2 separate regions of the Homo sapiens genome follow, and region 1 is linked to region 2. The links are contacts of gene promoters, found by promoter capture Hi-C in human tissues and cell types (Jung and others, 2019). All regions are on one chromosome and are shown on one strand. Each heading gives the region's core, a stretch centred on a gene start or on the middle of the fragment in contact. The rest is flanking DNA. Distances are from core to core; before and after follow the strand shown.

Region 1 (5,780 bases), core at 2,417-4,916, 430 kb before region 2:
GTAGGATTGTGGGACTGTGTTTTAGGAGAGAAGGATGTCTTGGATGTCCAGTTTCTGTGGTTAATCCCTTACTTGCTTATCCAGTGACAGCAAGAAACTTTCTGATTTAAAGTCTTTCAATTGACCAAAACTTTCTTATTGGATTCTGTTTCAGTTCTCCTATTAAGCACTGCAGAAACGAAAGGAAAGCCTAGGAATATGAAACTAATTAAAAAGGCACTTGGTGATATGACATAGTACTATGCTAGCCGTTGTGGATGTAACAGTTCATTTCTTATACTGCATTGTGCCTTCCCAATGATGTCAAACCCTAGAAATATTACAGAGATCTACTTTTCTGGAAAAGGGTGAGCTCTGTATTGATCTGCAGTGACTCTGTTTAGATATTAAAGTAGGTTCTGAAAAGCGACCTGTGTGGTCCCTCTGATTAGACTAGTTAATGTCTATGTGATGGGCATTTATTTATCTTTATTAGCAAGGTTTAAAAGAGCAAATTATCAAGACACCTATATCTTTTGGCCAGACTATATAATATTTTGTCAGAGTATGTGAAGAGGAGACCCAATTTCCAAATGAAGGAACTTTGCTTTTTCTCTGTCATGTTGAAGAGCTAATATACTGTGTAGATTTTCCCCTAAATATGGCTTTCTTAGCTTTATAGATGTTGAGATAATATCTTTTGAGGAACACATGTCAAGCAGGAACCTTGGCATAGATTTGGTTTCAGTTGTTTTAAGGCTTAATTAATGAAATGCCTTAATCAGCTTTCCAAACATTTTTATATATGAATACAGCAGACCAAGGAGCTGGATCTCCTGCTATCCTTACACGCCTTGTATCTATCAACTAAAGCTGTCATTAATGACTTGGGCAAAATGGCAAGAGGTATAATAAAGTCTTCCTGTGAATTAGCCAGTAGGGTCTGACACAACTAGTCAACTAACAAGGTTCCTGACTAGTACCTCAGTATTTCAGCACCTTAAGCACTGATAAATTTCAATCAGTCAACAATAAAGTGAGTGTTCCAACTAGACTTGTTGTCTTGCTTGTTCTTACTGTTTGGTGATTAATAGAAAATTCAATAATTATGACAGTTAATAGTATAATTCAAATGAGATTTACTTTATTTTTCAAATAATCTGAATTTTAAAAGTTTTTTTTCATTTGTACTTGAATAGCAATGGAATTTTTTAAATGCCGTTAGGGATAAGGACAATTCTTAGACATGTTTTACAGAAACCTACATTTTTGGAAAAGGATGAATGATCTTTGATAAATTTAATCAATCCAGAGGTGAAAGTAGATCCTGAAGGATGATCTATCTCATGTATAAGACTAGCTAGTAGATGTCATTGAGACTTAGGCATTTCATTACAATAGTGATGGCATCTTTATGACATCTCTAGGAAAATGTAGTAGTATATCAACCCTAGAGGGTAACTCCAAAACTTTGAAGCTGAAGAATAATTGCTCTTGCAATTCTGGTGATCTAAAACAGTGAACTAAGCTACATAGAGCTGTTTGGTTTGATCTTGAGTTTCTCCAAGTCTCCAGGTTCATGATGCATATCATCATCATTTCCAAATCTCAGAGTTTCCTCAAGAGAGGGCAACCACATTTGTAACTGTCTTCTTTCTGTCAATTAAGTGTGTGTATTAATTACTAGGGCTAGGTCTTTTCATTCCTTTGCACGTTTTAAGCAGGAATAGATGAGGCAAAGCCCATTTGTAGGTTATTTTTTAGTTTAACTATGTTAAATTAAACTATGTTGGTCAGGCTGGTCTCAAATTCCCGACCTCGTGATCCACCCACCTTGGTCAACCAAAGTGCTGGGATTATAGGCGTGAGTCACCACGCCTGGCCCAACAAAAATTTTTTTTAAATTTGCAGGGTGTTGGCCAGGCGCAGTGGCTCACGCCTGTAATCCCAGCACTTTGGGAGACCGAGGCGGGTGGATCACAAGGTCAGGAGATGGAGACCATCCTGGCTAACACGGTGAAACCCCGTCTCTACTAAAAATACAAAAAATTAGCTGGGCGTGGTGGCGGGCGCCTGTAATCCCAGCTACTCGGGAGGCTGAGGCAGGAGAATGGCATGAACCGGGAGGCGGAGCTTGCAGTGAGCCGAGATAGCGCCACTGCACTCCAGCCTGGGCAACAGAGCGGGACTCCGTCTCAAAAAAAAAAAAAAAAAAATTTGCAGGGTGTGGTGGGACGCACCTGTGATCCCAGCTACTCTGGAGGCTGAGGTGGGAGGCCATGAAGGTCAAGGCTGCAGTGAGCCATGATGGCACAACTGTGCTCCAGCGTGGGTAACACAAGACCCTGTCTCAAACAACAAAAATAAACAAAAAATTTATTTTCGAATTTGTCTTTGATCTAGGTTAGTTATTAGATCTGAAATTCTGAAACTACTGTCATAAACCTTATCTACAGGGGAAACAATGTTGAAGGTCAATAGGCTACTCATCCTTTTTGCTTTCAGAGGCATTATGTCATTTAATCTTTACAACAGACCTATCGTAATTATTATCATCAGCATTTTACAGATGATCAGAGATTCGTTTTTACATGAGGTAAGAAACACATAAAATTTACTATCATAACCATTTTTAAGTGTACAGTTCACTAGATTTAACTATATCCACATTGTTGTTCATTTGTATAATTTTGAAAGTTTATGGCAGCGGTTCAGAAATAAAATGTCTCACCACAGTCAAATATAATCTGGTAATTTGAAACTTCAAATGTTATAAATGTATTAGAAACTGTTGTATTATTTCTAATGGCAGGGTAGTAATAAGGATTATAGTTCATGAATGTGGTAATTAGCCAGAAATTCATTTTCTTTTTGCCTATGTTCTTCTCATTAATCATATTTTACCCTTTGGCTTGTATTTATGACATGGACTTATTTGGAGTCTTACATTGAAGGCATAGGTCTGATCCATAGTATTATTTCACCTCCCAAAGATTGAAAAGAAAATAACAGTTGGATTCCAGACATCTGACATCAACCTGATTTGAAAGTTCCATATAGGCACAGTTTAGACAGAGCTACTGAATTTAAATTAGTAAGAGCTGAAGAAAAGCTAAGCATAAAATGGACAGAGCCCTTCCCAGGGTAGCAGACATAAGCAGCAATAAATCAGTAAGTACTAAAACACAGGATCACTTTATTCTGGCTTTCTGCCATTTATAGACACTCAAACTTGGAATGAGCAGAAATCCTTTTGAACTTATATTTGCAAAACCTTGTGTCCATTCTTTTATCTTCCGGATTACCTTTATTTTTTTCTGTTTATTTCCTCATACCATCATCTATGCTCTGTTGGGTGCAGAGTCTGCTTAGATATCTTTGAGTGGCCCTGATTTGCATGTGGTAGCTTGCTTACCCAGAGAAAGGTACTCGGGATCGAATTGGATGCAGTTTAGCTGTGGCTCAGTAGAGGGAGTAGAGGAGCTGAGGGAGGGGGGAGAGCGAAAGAACGGGTCTGGTTAAGTAAGTGTTGTGTGTGAGCACCAGGAGGAGGGGGGCAGGGTGGGGAGTGGTTGCCTCTAGCAGCTCCACCCTCACTTTGTCAGCAGGTAGAGAGCGTGATTGCAGTCCCAGGGGAGGGAGTCAGAGCTAGAACACCAATTACAAACCACAGGCTTCCTGCTCTAGGGAGTTGATCCAGAATTGTCTTTCTGAAAGGAAGCACTCGGAATCCTTCCGAACTTTCCAAGTCCATCCATGATTCAGAGATACTGCCTTCTCTCTCTCTGGGATTTTATGTGTTTCTGATAGTGAATTGTTGATGTATTTGCTACTTTGCTTCTTTTCTCTTTCAAGACTTGATCATTTTATATGCTGTTTGGAGAAAAAAAGAACTTTTGTTAGCAAGGAGGTTTCAGAAATGATTTTGGATTTTCTGTAAGTGTTTAATTTAGTTCTAGGGGACAGCATCTCTCATCCCGGAGTAAATTTCTGCCTTTGACCTGCATGGATTATTTTTTCAGGCTGCGGAATTTCTCGGCACCTACCTGTAGTATGGGGCACTTGGTTTGGTTGCAGAGTAAGAAGGTGGAAGAATGAGCTGTACTTGGTTAAGCAGTTGAAACCTTTTTTGAGCAGGATCTGTAAAAGCATAATTGAATTTGTTTCACCCCCGTGGATTCCAGTGGGCCCGACAGCGCAACAGGTTTGCAGATTTCTTTTGAAATTCCTTTTTCCCCCCTCCCTCTGCCTCAGCAAAAGAAAAGAATCCATATAACAGGTTCATGTTCAATTGCTTGGCTTTTCAGCACTTATTCTGAAGACTTTATAATATTTTTAAACTTGACCTTGGAACACAGAGGGCTTTGTGGGTGAGGTGTATTTATATTTACTTAAGGGTGCACATTTTAAAAATCTTATTCTGTGTTTGTACAAAGACGCAAATTTTCATAGTGCCTAGAAATAGCACAGATCTATTCTACTCAAGATTATTTGTATTTTTTCAGGGTATTCTACCTAGAGCCTGTGGTTAATCGCCTCCCTGCTCCCCCTACCTTTTATTCCCTACCCCCTCAGGGAATTTGGATACATGTGAGGAATAGTCCTTTGTTTTTCTTATGAACCTAGAAAATTACAGATCATAAAATCTGGATATTAAAGTAGTTTCCAAAAGCATCTCATGGGAAATCAAAGTGCTCGGCATTTCCGAGCTGGAGAATAAAATCAAGAATCCTTAAGAGAGAAAAGAAAATGGAGATGGAAATATGAATTTTAACTGGGAAAAATAATTGGAAAGCTAACCTTTTCAAATACTCTAATTATGAAAGTTGGAAAAGGTTGTGATGCTCAGGATTATCCTGTAATGTGTGAAGATACATAAATTAGCACCTAATTTATAGGCAAATTTTGGTAAAACACAAAAAATTATGGTATGTCTAAGTTCATGAAAAGTATGTAAATGCAGTGGGCCTAGAAACCTGGCCACACTGAAATACAGTTTAATGTGGAAACTTTTCTAAATACATATTGTAGCATCTTTGGACATCAACGTGTGGCCTGAAATTTTTATTATTGTTCCCTCTTCTCCTCCATTAAAAAAAAAATCTCCTTGTGGTATTTAGTCATTTACCATTAACACATATTATGGCTTAAAAAGGGCCATCCCTTCCTTTTCTGAGCTGGAGTTCTTCACGCTCACCTTTGATGCATGGCCTTAGCTGTTTACTTTGCCTTGTTTTGTTCATGAACATTGGGTTTAGTGCCTGGCAACTTGATGCATATGGAAGAGCAATGCCAAGTGATCTGACATAATACAAATTCACGAAGTGACATTCAATCACAAGCAAAGTTGGAAATTCCAAAGAGAAGTGGTGAGATCTTTACTAGTCACAGTGAAGATGGGAGAAAATGACATACCTGCAGCAGATGTGGGCTGAAAATATCCTCTTCTCTGCCCAATCAGGAATGCTACCTGTTTTTGGGAATAAACTTTAGAGAAAGGAAGGGCCAAAACTACGACTTGGCTTTCTGAAACGGAAGCATAAATGTTCTTTTCCTCCATTTGTCTGGATCTGAGAACCTGCATTTGGTATTAGCTAGTGGAAGCAGTATGTATGGTTGAAGTGCATTGCTGCAGCTGGTAGCATGAGTGGTGGCCACCAGCTGCAGCTGGCTGCCCTCTGGCCCTGGCTGCTGATGGCTACCCTGCAGGCAGGCTTTGGACGCACAGGACTGGTACTGGCAGCAGCGGTGGAGTCTGAAAGATCAGCAGAACAGAAAGCTATTATCAGAGTGATCCCCTT
Region 2 (5,147 bases), core at 916-3,415:
ACTTAAAAGGTTAATTTTTTTTTAAAGAATGTTTGAGGAGCAATCAATTCTGATTTTGTCTTATGGATAGAAATAGAATTAGCCATTTTCCTCAAGAAAAGTGATTCTTCTGAATCTTAGCTTTTCAGTAATGAGAACTGGACTGTTTCCACTTGACCTCTATTTCCTGTTAGTGGGAAACCGCTTCCCAGAGGTGCTGTGTGAAAGATTGCTGGGGAAAGGGTTTCTAGATCCCAGCATAACAAGTTCAAGAGTCCAGCGATATTGTCATTAGAATAATGGTCTTCATTAAGTACTAGTTTTCATAATCCTGAAGCTTCATTTTCACCAATTTGAAAGGCAGCTAGGGAGGAGAAGACTATGCAGGGAAGGAGGAAAACTCTGGAGTGCATCACAGAGACCTTGAGTGAGTTAAGGCAGGGAAGAAGCAGATTTGCTATCCACTGAATGAAAATAAGAAGAATTCCATTGTCCAAGGTCAGAGCAAGAACACAAAGGTTTTAGTTTACTTAGTTAATTCCTTAGGTTTGGACATTACAGGAGACATGGGGGTGACCATAGCAATTTAGCTGATAAATGTATCAGAAACTCTTTCATCATTTTCTGTCCCCTCCTATCTTAGGCTGACCGGTTCCCTGATGTGTTACCTGCTTCTGCTACTGATCCAAACTGCAGAACTTCTCATTCATCCCCAAGGCCTCCAGGCAGTATCCAATGGGGAATCAGCTCTAAAAGGAACCAGACCAACGTTTTCCAGCCCCTTCATTCTGGTGACTGAGGGGAGGAAAGAATGGGAGGGGGTATTCTTGTCTAGTGGATGGAAAGGAAACACACTGTCAAATTACTATATCTCCTTGGTTTTCTATTACAGTAGAATTCTCCAGCCATATTTTTATTGTCTATGGGGGAAGTTGGAGATGGTGACCTTGATTAGAAGTGTCTGGAGGGGGATAAATGGAGGGGATAAGATTCAGTTGGTTTTGGAAAATGTTAAAGTCTTAAAATAATGCGTCCATCTGAAGAATTTTTTCTAAAACCAGAGTTTATAAAAATATCACTGATACAGCCTGCCCCCTCATTTCCCTGCCACAGGAGATGTCTTGGACTAGAGACACTTGTTTAATAATAGCTTGTCTCTGATATTCCCAGTAGCTTCCCTCTGTGTGAGGAAAGGATAGAAATGTTCAGGACATCATCATACAGGCTCCTCATCTACAAAGTTCCAGTAGCAGTGACGCCTACACGGAAGACTTGGAACTGCAAACAGGCTGGGGTCACCTCAGTGACATCTGACGCTGTCCAACCAGAAGTTCGATTTTTGTTCTGGGGGTGAAGGAGGAAACAGACTGTACTAAAGGACTAAAATAATTTGTCTATACTATCTCACTTGTTTTTATTTTTGGCGGGAGAGGAGGGGTGTTGGGATAGAATTTCACATCCTATCTTGGAGTGAAGGGGAGGATGGGGAGGCTCAGCCCTTCACCCAAGAATAACCCAGTAATGACATCTCTACGCGTGGGAAGTGTTTCCCTCCACACTGAGAGGATCTGAGGCTGCACCCCAGTGGGATTCCCTGCTTGAGTTGGAAGGCCATCTCGCCATGAGATGCATATCATAGCGAGAGCGCAGAGGGCTTAGCCGGCCGGGGAGGAAATGCCAAAAGGAAGAGAGGCTCGAAGTCGAAAGGGCTTCCCCCAGTTTGGAGGTGGGGACCATGCTGTGCATGAGCGACTGAAGAGCCGAGTGTCCGCCGTGGCCTGTGCCCTCCGCTGAGGGTCTAACAGGGACGCGACGGTGCTGGACACCGTGTCTGAGTCACGGGAGACGGCCCAGCTGTGCCCAGCGGGCCAGCGCCAGACCCTGGCGTCCTCCATCTTCTCTCCTGAGCTCCCCCTGCTCCAGCTGCCTGAGCCACGGACCGCAGCACCACACACCCCCGCGGGGGGGGACGCCGCGCCCCATCCCCGCCCCGGGCCCCACCCCAGCCCCCCCGCGGGGGCCCTGACCCCACCGCCAGCGGGCACTGGCTGAGCTCCGAGGCGGCGAGCCGGCAGCGGGGACGCCCAGAGGGGGTCCGGGCGACTGGGGGCGGCGGCGGCCGGGCCGGGGCTCCCCCCCCGCCCGCGCTCGCCGCCGCGGTGGTGCGTCCCGGAGGTTACCGGAAGTGGCCGCGCTCGGCGCTGCCATGTTGAGGAGCCGCCGCTGCCGTTGCCGCCGCCGCCGCCGCCGCTTTGTTGTCGCCTCCTCCGGCTGAGGAGGCTCCCCGAGCGGGGGGAGTGGGGAGGAGGGGGGTCGGCCGCCGCAGCCATGGAGGCCAACTGGACCGCGTTCCTGTTCCAGGTACTGGGGGCCCCCCCGGGGGGGCACGGGGGGGACAGGGGGGCCGGGCCCCGGGCTGGCGGGCGGGCGGGCGCTCCTCCTCCCCTCCCTCCCGGCTCCGCTCTCCGGCCCGGCCTTAATCCCCCTTTGTTTTTCCGCCCGCCCGCCCCGGCGAAGCGGGGCTGCTGAGGTGAAAGGAGGCGGCCTCACGGGGTGCGGGGGAGATAGCAGGCCGCGGGGTGAACCCGGGGGCCCCCCAGCACACACACGCACACACACACACTCACACACACCCTTCCCTCTCGCTCTGAAGGGGAAGGGAGGAGGCCGGTCGCTGTCACCACCCCGCGGCCCAGAGAAAGGAGGGCGCCGGGCCGCTGGATAGCGCGGGCTGCTGGGCCATTGCGTGCCGGCCCGGTCCCCCACGGTGGGGTGAGGAGGTCCCCAGGTCCTGCCCTGAGTCTCCTCCCCGCCACTTCATCCATCTTTCGCTTGTTCTCTTTTCACCTTCCTCGTCTTTTTGTGTGTGTGCGTGCGTGTGTTGACTTTCTGACCCCCTCCCGTGTCCCCGCGAATAGCGGGTATCCCCAGGTTCCCCGCCACTCCCCCTCACCGCCACCACCCCTCTCGTGTTTACCCAGTTGGGGGGGCGGATGTTGTGAGTGTGTATCCCCTCCCCAAACTTTTTCACTGGATTTACATTTTTTTTTCCCAAGTCTCAGCCGAGCCTTGGCAGCTGACACCTTCTCCCTCTGTCCAGCTCTCCCGCCGTCCCATTCAGCCTGGGGAATCCCCCAGCCGGGCCGGCCCGGGGCAGGCGGGGAGCGGTGGGGGCCGGGACTCCTGGAGGCCCGACCTTCTCCCGAAGCGCTTTTCTTTCTCGCCCACCTCGAACGTTTCCTCCAACCAAGTGGAGAGAGCAAACAAAGTCCGCTTACAAAGCCCCCAGATGAGTCACTCTCTGGGATGTTGGTCTTCGCTTTTTTGCAAGAAACTTGAAAGTGACTGTAGCCGATGTGTTTTGGCAATTCTCTTGCCCGCCCACTTTAGATGGGGGACCCCTGTTTGGCAGATCTAGGCTGGAACTTATTTTTTTCCTACTTCGTTTCTGTTTGCAAAACGAAGCATTCAGTGGGCAGTAGCGATGAGCTCACGGGGAAACTTCGGAACTGGAGGAGGTTAGGAAGCTCGTCACTTTTAAGTGCGTTCTTCCCGCCTCTCTGAGTTATTTTCCTTTGAATACTTCGTGAAATCCCAAACGCGTAGCTGGGGCGCTTGATACCTTTTGAAACTAACAGGAACGGATGCAGAATTTTCAAAAAATTATTCTCCCAGCCACTGGATTCATCCTAGTGGAGTTAATATAGAGAATTGGATAACTCAGAAATTACCTACTGTGTAGACTGGCCTGTTGTTTTAAGACATATTTTTTCAAATGTGGGCAATTTGATCTTTAAGTAGTTATGGAAATATATTTGGGCTTCTTAAAATCTAAAATACCCAACATTATGGAATTCATGAACTTCCCCCTTTTCTCATTCTGATCAGTGTTGTTTTATTGTACTTTGATGAGCTTGCTAATAATGTGATAAACCAACTTGAAAATGCATTGGAAAAGAAATGATATATAACTAGCATGCATCCAGGTTGGTGTAAAGGTGGCAAATACTTTCCCCAGAAAAAAGCTCAAATGGTTATTTTAAAATATGGGATTGATGTGCCACTGAAGTGATTTTCGTGTGATTAAAAACCATATTAAGCATGGTGTCTATAGAGATTGAAAAAAAAAAGTGTTCTTCATGTAAAGGAAAAACCCATAACACATCTTTGGAAAGCTGGTTGAAAAATCTTTTGAAATACTTTTTTAAAGATTATTTTTCTCCTGGGTAAAACAAATGCCAAGCGTTTATTGATCAACTTTTTAATTAGATTTTATATTATTTAATTTTTTTCAGCTATTAAAATCTTTTTTTCCACCTGATGGAGAAGTGTGAAAACAAATATTTAATCCTGGGCTTGGCAATGTGTGCAGTGAAATTTGTTGGAAAACTTAAAATTTAGAGCCGAGAGCAGTTGAATGGGTAAAGAGAATATTTCAGTCTTTTCTATGGAAAGGTATGAATAGACTTAATCAGTTCTGGTTTTAAGTAATTTTCACTGGGGATATGGAGTTAAATTATCTTGTTTGTTTCCTGGAGCATCCTGTTGAATTTATATTTTGAAACAATTTAATACCTGCTTGCTTTCCAGATAACTTGGTGGAAAGTGAAAGCTATAGCTATTAAAATGTTTGATGGATGATTCTTCTAACAGGACATTCAAGATGTGACTCACCGATGTTAATTTGTTCAGTACAAAATCTTTTACCCTCTGGCACTGGAGATTTCATGGTGCCATATCCTACTACCCTGGGTGATGAAATAACATTTCTGTTTTGTTTCTTGCCAGCCCCAGGAAAAGGAAAGCTTGGGCAGGGTTAAAAAGCCTTGCAGTTGAAAGAGATGGGATATAAAATTAAAACTTTGGTTTGATGATGCTAGTCAAATAAAAGCCTACCCAGAAGTTATATTTTTAAAATAAATCACTTAACTGAAGGCTGGCCGTGGTTGTTATTTTACTCTGTCTCTCCCCCAGAGAAGAAGTTGGGAAAACCCAGTTCCCCCTTAGAAGGCTTCTTGTAGAAGTGTGGGGATCCTAGGAATCCTCAGAGAGTGATTCCTGTAGTGGTTCTGCAGCATTTCACCCAAGAAGCAGGGACCTGGTGTGACCCTCCTGTGAGAGTGAGCTTCAGCAATGCTGTAAAAATACTTTATGTTGCCACAGACATC

What was found. The method cuts DNA at HindIII sites, captures the fragments that hold promoters and counts their contacts. A contact is called where the count stands out against the background at its distance.
Region 1: the fragment with the promoter of RNF43 here is called in contact with the fragment with the promoter of VEZF1 in region 2 in 1 of the 25 tissues and cell types used here (mesendoderm cells).

The regions. Positions count from the first base shown.
Region 1 is chr17:58,415,420-58,421,199 of GRCh38, reverse strand. It overlaps RNF43 (ring finger protein 43), which reads left to right and starts at 3,666. Exons shown (of 10, transcript NM_017763.6): 1 at 3,666-4,183; 2 at 5,238-5,780. The coding sequence starts at 5,623. HSF5 (heat shock transcription factor 5) reads left to right here. Exons shown (of 6, transcript NM_001080439.3): 6 at 1-1,033. The HindIII fragment of the contact is 9,725 bases long and covers 1-5,780 here.
Region 2 is chr17:57,985,272-57,990,418 of GRCh38, reverse strand. VEZF1 (vascular endothelial zinc finger 1) reads left to right here and starts at 2,165. Exons shown (of 6, transcript NM_007146.3): 1 at 2,165-2,340. The coding sequence starts at 2,308. It overlaps LOC101929185 (a long non-coding RNA gene), which reads right to left and starts at 2,309. Exons shown (of 1, transcript XR_001752716.3): 1 at 1-2,309. It also overlaps a transcript of SRSF1 not described here. RefSeq lists enhancers at 1,563-1,702, 1,723-1,772 and silencers at 1,923-2,202, 2,273-2,752, 2,833-2,902. The HindIII fragment of the contact is 6,267 bases long and covers 1-5,147 here.